Regions from separate parts of the Homo sapiens genome. Here region 2 is linked to region 1. Evidence: promoter capture Hi-C in 16 types of primary human blood cells and fetal thymus (Javierre and others, 2016). All regions are on one chromosome and are shown on one strand. Each heading gives the region's core, a stretch centred on a gene start or on the middle of the fragment in contact. The rest is flanking DNA. Distances are from core to core; before and after follow the strand shown.

What was found. The method cuts DNA at HindIII sites, captures the fragments that hold promoters and counts their contacts. A CHiCAGO score of 5 or more calls a contact.
Region 2: the fragment with the promoter of LRRIQ3 here is called in contact with the fragment with the promoter of NEGR1 in region 1 in 2 of 17 cell types (monocytes and fetal thymus); the score reaches 6.1 in monocytes.

What each region holds. Positions count from the first base shown.
Region 1 is chr1:72,280,235-72,284,539 of GRCh38, reverse strand. NEGR1 (neuronal growth regulator 1) reads left to right here and starts at 2,001. Exons shown (of 7, transcript NM_173808.3): 1 at 2,001-2,221. The coding sequence starts at 2,046. It overlaps LOC105378797 (a long non-coding RNA gene), which reads right to left and starts at 1,606. Exons shown (of 6, transcript XR_947506.3): 1 at 1,135-1,606. RefSeq lists an enhancer at 1-183 and silencers at 1,565-1,654, 1,755-1,814. The HindIII fragment of the contact is 3,164 bases long and covers 373-3,536 here.
Region 2 is chr1:74,196,206-74,200,510 of GRCh38, reverse strand. It overlaps LRRIQ3 (leucine rich repeats and IQ motif containing 3), which reads left to right and starts at 2,335. Exons shown (of 8, transcript NM_001105659.2): 1 at 2,335-2,515. FPGT-TNNI3K (FPGT-TNNI3K readthrough) reads right to left here and starts at 2,269. Exons shown (of 27, transcript NM_001112808.3): 1 at 2,151-2,269; 2 at 680-847. The coding sequence starts at 2,232. It overlaps FPGT (fucose-1-phosphate guanylyltransferase), which reads right to left and starts at 2,269. Exons shown (of 4, transcript NM_003838.5): 1 at 2,151-2,269; 2 at 680-847. The coding sequence starts at 2,232. RefSeq lists a silencer at 2,332-2,431. The HindIII fragment of the contact is 8,918 bases long and covers 1-4,305 here.

The DNA of each region.
Region 1 (4,305 bases), core at 752-3,251:
AAAGAGCTCAGTCTGCGGAGGCAGCCGGATGCTGACCCCTGCAGAGAGTCTTGCTTCGGTGCGCTTTGCCAAATGACCCTGCTAGCATTATGGAAAACGAGTTACGGACGTGTGAGGTTTTGCTTCATTTCCTCCAAAAGAAGAACTGGGATCTGGCAAAGAATATCTTCTTCAAACACTGCTAAAGGGGGATGGGGTGGAGGAAGGGAAAAAGTGTGTGAGGGGGAGGGAGCTTATTTTTTAATTACTTATTTTCCATTTTCACTTCCCCGCTCTGCTTCCCAAACTCCTCGCTGAACAAGATTGATTGGTGTAACTGCTAACGACTCAGCCTCGGTTCTCGCATTGATTTGCAAATGGCCCGGAAAAGCTTAAGGATCTTGAATCTGGAAATGAGTTCAAGAAGGAAAGAAGAAAAAAGAGTAGGGGTGGCCCCACGCCTAGTATCTCCTTCTGCCTTGGGCCAGGGCAGGGCTGAAAACAGCCCGGCGAGCTGCGGAGGGGCTGCTGCGTGGGGAAGCGGAGGTTACCGCTCTGCACCGCGGAGGAGCAAGCCTGTTAACGCGGTGTGGAGGCTGTTAAGAAATACAACCCTGCGACTCGTTAAACCCCTTAACTCTGCCCTGCCTTGACTCGGATGCGCCGATTATTCGGCCTGATAGGCTCAAATGGGTTAAACTGCCTCTTACATAACTGGACCGCCTGGGCTCTACACAATTAAAACACTTGATTGCAGTCTTTTCCCGACTCTACATCCCAGCATGACCCGCCCCGTCCCTCCCAGCGCGCCTGCGTGCCGCGCGTGCACAGGCCCCCGCGCGCACGACACGCTCTCTATCACACACACACTCCATGTTGACCATAAACAATCCCCTACTCACACACACAACTTAGTGTCAACACCCACAGATAAAAGAGGGGCGTCCTGCAATCCATACGGGCCGACCGCCACAAACACGCAAGCTGCTCTGCCGCAAGGCCTTGCACCTCCTCGTGTCCCCGCAAAAAAGCAGCGCCCCGCCACCGTCCCTACCTATTCCCGAGAAAACGCAGAGAGAACTAGTTGGCTGCTCGCTAACTGCAGCGTAGCCACCCAGGCAAGATTAGAAGAAAATAAACAAAAAAACAACTCACAGTCGCCGGCGTCATGATGGCGCCGACCACAACTTGGAGGACTTCAAACTTACGGTGCCTCGAGAGGTAAAACGCACCGGTGAGGGAAGGCAAAGCGCCCCTCAGCTCTCTTCACCCCAGCCCTGACACGGAGACTTTTCTAGCAAAGAATCCCTCTAGCGCTTACGACAGTAAGGAGAGCCTTCATTCTAAGGTGCCTCTCTTTCCCCCTTAGTTTGCATAATTGTGATACAGTTCCTCCTATTTTTTTTTTCGTTGTCTTGCTTTTCTTTTTTTTTTCTTGCTATCTTTTTTCTTTCTTTTTTTATTATTTTTTTAATCCCCCTCCCTTCTCCATCCCCAGTCCCCTGGCGGGGTTGCTAAGGAAACGGCCGCTTGGCAACGCGCGCGAGCCCGGGAGCCGGCGGCCGGCGCAGCGCTCCGCGCTGCTTCTGCTGCTGCTGTTGCTGTTGCTGCTGCTGCTGCTGGGATTGCAGCCGCCGCCGCCGCCGCTCGCCCTGCCTCCTCCCCCGCCGCCGCGCCTCCTCCCTCACTCGCCGGCGCGCTCGCCTCCTCGCTAGATGGTGTGCGAGCCGCCCGAGAATTAGACACACTCCGGACGCGGCCAAAAGCAACCGAGAGGAGGTGTAGTGTGGTGCCAGGGGGAGGGAGGGGAGGGAGGGAGGGAAAGCGAAGAGGAGGAGGGGAGGCAAAAACACCGAAAAACAAAAAGAGAGAAACAACACCCAACAACTGGGGTGGGGGGAAGAAAGAAAGAAAAGAAACCCACCCACCCACCAAAAAAAAAAAAAAAAAAAAAAAAAAAAAAAAATCCTGTGGCGCGCCGCCTGGTTCCCGGGAAGACTCGCCAGCACCAGGGGGTGGGGGAGTGCGAGCTGAAAGCTGCTGGAGAGTGAGCAGCCCTAGCAGGGATGGACATGATGCTGTTGGTGCAGGGTGCTTGTTGCTCGAACCAGTGGCTGGCGGCGGTGCTCCTCAGCCTGTGCTGCCTGCTACCCTCCTGCCTCCCGGCTGGACAGAGTGTGGACTTCCCCTGGGCGGCCGTGGACAACATGATGGTCAGAAAAGGGGACACGGCGGTGCTTAGGTAGGAAGAACGGCGTGCTTTTCGTACTTGTTTCGGTCTATCTTTCTGTCTCTCTTTGAACCCTCTTTGCCTTCTTTATAACACAAGCAATAATGCTGGTGGTGCTCATCATGGAAAGACCACATCCCAAGAATTCCAGGTGCAGATTCTTCCCGGAGCCCCGGCCCGTTTATGCTGGGGCAGGTAGCAAGCTGGACTCGTGATGCTAAAGCACTTTGCCGGAACGCCAAGTAGCCTGGGGATGAGTGAACTGTCAGGTTTAGAAGGAGGGGCAGGTGCCACTTTGAAACTCAATGCACAAGGTCTCTGTTTTACTGTCATGGGGTACTCCTGGAGAGTCTGACAAGTTTATCAGGTTTGTTTCTATTTTACTCCAGCATAAGCGACTCTTTCAAACTGCTGTTCTCTGCTCCCATTTATTTTCCCTCTCACTTGGACACTTAGGCTCGATTTCTTGCTCTTTATCTTTCTTTCCTTTTACCGCTTTCTGTTTTCTTTCTTTTCTCCTTCCTCATTCTCTTATACCATTTTCCCCACCTCCTTGTAACTCTTTTTCCCTCCAATATCTCTTTTCATACCTTTTCTATTTTCTGTTTTTTCCCTCCTTTTTAAAATTTCTTCTCATATTTTCTCATTTTTATCTCCACGACTCTAATTTCTGTTCCTCACATTTAATCCCCTTTCCTCCTCTCTTTTACCCTTTTTTCTTTTTGTCTATTTTTTTTATTCCTCCTTAATGTCCCTATCCTGTGCCCTGTCTTCCCTCTTTTGACTCCCATTTCTCATCCCTCTCCCCATACCGTTTCCCACCCCTGTGGCACACACAGGCATGGTCACTGTTCCCCTCCAGTACCATTTACTCACCCTCATAAATCTTATTTCCATAAACATACTAACTCACATACTCTCACATCCTCACATGCACTGGCACTTCCATGCTGTAAGAACCACTTCCACATTCAGATTGTCTCTCACTGTTTTTAAAAGGCATACTCTCCTTCTCTGTTCCACATTGTCACTCACACATGTGTACACACTGCCTGTCTCACTCGCTGCTCTCACTCTGTCTCTGCTTCTCTCTTTTTCTCTTTCTGTGTCTTTCTATCCCCTTTTTATTCCTACCTTCCTCCCTCCATCAGTCTTCACTTTTACTTATTTTTCTCATTTTCCCTTCTTTCCTCTGAGCTTGAGCTCTGAGGTGGTTTGTCATTAATAAACATCCATACCCTGATTTTACCCCTAAGCAACACTGCAGAGTGGGAGTCTGGGAATATTTTATTTCCTATGAAAATATAAATGGATGATCAGCAAAGCTTAGATCTAAACAAAGCTAAACGCCCTATTCCTTCATTTCTTTCCCATCACCCTCCCTTCTCCCCCTGCCACCCCACCTCACATTTCCCTGAAAGATCTTCTTTTTCTCCACTGGGTGGTAGTTGGCTTGTAAGTCTGGCTTGCACAACATCAGTGTACATGACATGTCTAAGGTGAAAGAGAGTGGGAAATGTTTCTGTTTGAAACATGCAACATATTTAAATTTAATGATGTGGGTGTGGTATATGACTTACACCTTTTGGAACATGCCTATGAGTTCAAATTTGGAATACTATCGTATTTTTTAATATACACTAATACATATGTTTTTAATAATTTCTGTTTTGAATAACAAATGCCACTATATACAAAAGTAACTAATATCTTTGATATTACACAGTAAAAAAAAACTTTTCATTGTTGGTAACAGTGATAAATTCTTTGTCACAGAGAGGATATAAATTAAGCCTGTATTTTCTCTTTATGTTAAGTTTGTTTTAGAAGTTTGAACAACAGTGGTAAGGGCAAGACACTATCTTCAGAGATTGCAAACACATATCATGGGAGCTGCAATATGTATTTTTGTAGCAAGCAACATATTGCTTATTTGTAGTGAGCATTACCATTTCCACCCTAAAGGGTTTAGGAGACTGCTTTTCTTTCAATAATGTATCCTGGCATTTGGTTTCCCAAACAAACAACAATTTAATAAATACTATGGTTAGTGAAGATAGCTGGACCCACATTCTGCTTCCAGGAGACCCATGTTT
Region 2 (4,305 bases), core at 1,086-3,585, 1.9 Mb before region 1:
AAAAAAAAAAAAAGAAATAATAACAGTACTGACCTCATAGTTGTAAGGATTAAAATAATGTTGGCTAATTAGAATAATGCTAATGTCATATTAATGTCATATACAGATATCTTATCTCTGGTATCAGGGGGCTTCAACTTTAAGTATCACATAGAAAAGAGCATTCAGAAAAACAGCATTTATTTCTATTTGCAATGGACGGTCAAAGGGCAAAGTTGACCTAAACTAGGGTTTTCAAATATATGTATTATATTTAAGCCATGTGACAGTGTTCTTTTGCATTCTGCATTATGTCCCTAAGAGGTCAAGAGTATTTTTTCCCACTAATTGCTTTCTTCATGTAAATTGCTGGAGGAACTCTGGAGTGGAGAGGACCTCAAGGGTTCTACTGATAAGGTCCAAAGGAGTATTCCTATCTGAATAGTGTGAATTTCATTAAAACTAATAAAATTTTCTTTTAAGTAACATTCTGGAAGTTTTTCAAGGTAAGTCATAATGGGTAAGAACAGTTGCTATTCCTTTTATCTTTCTAAAAAAAGTCAATTTATGTTCAAATTTTAAAGTTTGTAAAGCTGTGGGTAGAGATATGCAGCTTATACACTGTAAGTCACAGAAACCTTTTCTTCAATGATTATTCTGCTTAGGACCTATATTATAAAACTGACCATAAAGCGCGTACCAATTTTGGCTCCAGCAGGATCCACAAAAACGTGATATTGAACTCCAAGGGGTAACTCCTTTCTTTTCAGCTTTTCTGACAGCTGTTGGTTGTAAGCAAGTTCCTGTTTTTCATCAGCCGCTGTTATTGCAACTATGTCCCAGAATTCTCCACGTGCTACAAGTTTGCCTATTTGGAAAAAGCAAGGAAATGAAAACAAAAATTATCAGAATTTTCTAGTTGCCACAGGTTTGCCTATTGAGAAAGATGATAAAGAAGGTAATATCCATTATCATCTTCCAAAATGTATCTTTGGCTTTTGAAAGTTAGGGAATAATTAGTGGTGCATTAATACGATTCAAAATAGTTATAATGAAGACTGTTCACAAGTTCCTTTTTTTTCTTTTAGATCACTCCCTCCTTTTATGGTTTGCAATCCAATTTAATTATAAATTCTGAATGACATAATGTTTCTTGATTAAGAGAGCGACTTTTAACTTGCCAAAGACTATTGCCTCAATTCTTCAATAAGAAGAGGAGATAAACATAAACAAATCTCCAGCTTTGCAAATCAATTCTTATGTATCACGGACACTTGGTGTTAGGTGACTAAGAAAGACACAACCCAAAGATCCCTTCCCTCAATGTTGCTGTTTATAAATGTGGGTACTTTATTTTCTATTACTTTAAGATGAACCATGCAAACTTACATAGGCTGTTAGAATATAACATAAAATTCTGGATAACAGAAGGTCCCAACTCTCTGATGACATCTTTAAAAGACAGTGTGCACTTTTAGTAGACAGTTGGAATCTCTTTATTGATAAACAAAATGATTTAGCATTTTAATTAGTTAACAAACAGAACTTGTCAGCTAGAATCTAATAGTCCTGAAAGTTTTACTGTTATCCAAGAATTAGTCCCAGTATTTTTTAAGCAGTCACTGCAACACAAATATAATCACTTTTATTAGACAGGTGTACAGGGATTAAGTGTCATAGCCAATTTTTTGATAACAAATTTCTTCCTTTTAATTTTTAATCCATAATTCCTCCATGTTCTGTTACTCCCTCAACAAACGGTTACATTACAGAAGTAGATGAACGTAATGTAAAGCGTGAAGTAGATAGGGGGCTGGCATCTACTCATAAAGTTCAAAATACTGTGCTTCGTATCTTTTAGATTTATTTAAAGCAACTTTTATTAATGAGCTAATCAATGCATAACTTCACTAGTAAGATTTTCTTCTTCTTCCTCCGCCCTCATTTTTAATATCTATACTACTAAGAATAAAGTAAGCAACAAGCATGTCAAGCAGGGACAGTGAAAAGAATAAAAAACTCAAAAGGATTATTAGCTAGCTACTCCTGGGGAGCGTCATAGGCCTACAGATGAGAAGTAAACGGGAAGTGACAGTCCAGCAAACCTCCTGGCACGTAAAAGCACCCTCCCTCTGCATTGCCCAGGAGAACTCCGGTGCCTTCTCTGGTACCTCTTAGCTCGGAAAACCTCCGCAATTTTCGCTGGGTGGCTTCTCGCAGCGATACTTCCGGAGGGTCCCTAGCAGCTGCCATAGCCCCACCTTCCCTGAGACCGCGCCGCACAGCACGCATGCGCCCTGGGGTGCGCCTCCGCCCGGTTGTTTCTGACCCGCCCCCTCCGTGCGTCGCCCACGTAACCACGCCCCCGGAGCGCCTTGGCTGGCGCCCGGAAAACCATGATGTGGAGAACTTGGATGTTGTCTTGTTTCTCTAGCAACGGTCTCAGGAGCAGATGGCCGCCCAGCGATTTGTCTGACTGTGTTGGGGCTGGGCCACTTGTCTCCAACTCATAAGGGCTTGCAGCCCAGTTGACCCGGTGAGTGGTTCAGTTTGGGTGACAAAATTGTTAGAACCGACCCGCTAAGGATAAGGCGAAACTACATTCTAGCTTCCCAGCTTTCACATCAAAGGCGGTTCGTCCTAACTGGTGGTTTGTTTCAGCCTGGAGCAGTTCCCCAGGATAGCCTGATAGAAGATCTCCGCCATCTCTCCTTTCCCCCGCCACCCCGGGCCATCTGCCCCCAACCCTGGGTCATGATACATACACAGTCTGAATATTTAAAATCTCTGCTCTTTCTAGGAACCTTAAGTTTGTGGTTCCTAGAGAGTGAGCCACCCCACCCCTCTGTTTTTTCTTAGTAGGCTACACACGACAGCCTCTCAAATAGTGTCTTTGAAAGTTGTATAAAATTCAGTCCGCAACCAGGCTCCAAATATTTTTGGTATTTTGGTTTCTTCTCTGGCATTCTTTTGTATATGCAGATTAATCTAGAATGTTCAATAACACTCTTAGGAATAAGTCAGCCTTTTTAGGTGTTTTTTTGGGTAGCTATATAAAGGTGTTCCTGTTATAGAACACGAGGTTTCTTGGTTTTACAGACCACTTCATCTTTACACAGAAGAAAACTGAATCAGAGAATAGTGAGTTAGTCAAGGTATCACAATTAGTAAGTAATAAAAGATTTAAGAAATATATTTCAATCCCAAACCCAGAACTTGTGGTATTTCACCATACCGTTTGATTTTTTGAGACGATTTCTCTGTATCAACGTCTTCATTAGGTACGTAGACATTCAGGGCACCATAAACTCTTGTCATAAATTTACTTAGTTTTTCTTCTCAGACTTGTTATACAATCGTGTTCTAATAGTGGAAACATTTGGATAAAATGGCAGATTAGATTACTCTTTCATAGTTTTACATTTAAAACTTCATTAATTAAAAAAACAGTATCTTATTGAAGAACATTTAGAAAATACAGAGACTTGAGTGAAAGTAACCAAAGGAGAAAGTAGCGAGAGAAGGTCAGAGAGAGAACAAAGGGCCATAGGAAGAATTTTGGTTTTTACTCTTGAGGGAAACAAAGCCATTGCAGGGTTTTGAAGTGACTTGGCTTATGTTTAAAGAGATCACTCGGAGATAGGAGAATAGATTATAATGGGGGATGAGGCAATGATAGAAGCAGGGAGACTTCTTTGGAGGTTACTGCAATATTGCAGGTGAGAGCTGGTGAAGGCTTGACCAGGATGGTAGCAGTGGGAATGGTGAGAAGTTGGTCAGATTCTGGATATATTTTTAAGACAAAAACAATAAAATGTGCTGATGGAATTAATGGGTGTGGACTGTAAGAGAAAAAGAGGAGTCAAAATGACTGCCTTGGGATGGATTGGCCATCAATTAAGATGGGTAAGTTTCCGACTGAGGAAGGTTTTTGGGGTAATAGGGTCCAGAATTTGATTTTGGACATGTGGAATAAAGAGACATGTGTATGCAGTGAATATGTAATGGAAGTTTGTGTGTGTATGTGTCTGTATGCATTATACATACGAGTCTAGAATTCAGGAGAGAGGTCTGGGCTAGAGATACAATTTTGGGAATTGTCAGCAAGAAGATAGAATTAATTTTAACTGTGGAACTAAGTGAGGTCCCAAGGGAGTGAAGGTCAGCAGAGCCTATATGTTTGGGGTCTGTATATTCTAATAAGGTGAAATAAAGAAGGAAGAAGTAACCAAATAAAAAATCCAGTGGTAACAATTGTGAGGAGACAAACAGAGTGATGTGTTAGATTCTATCATACAGAATATTAAATAGAGTATTTATTGGATC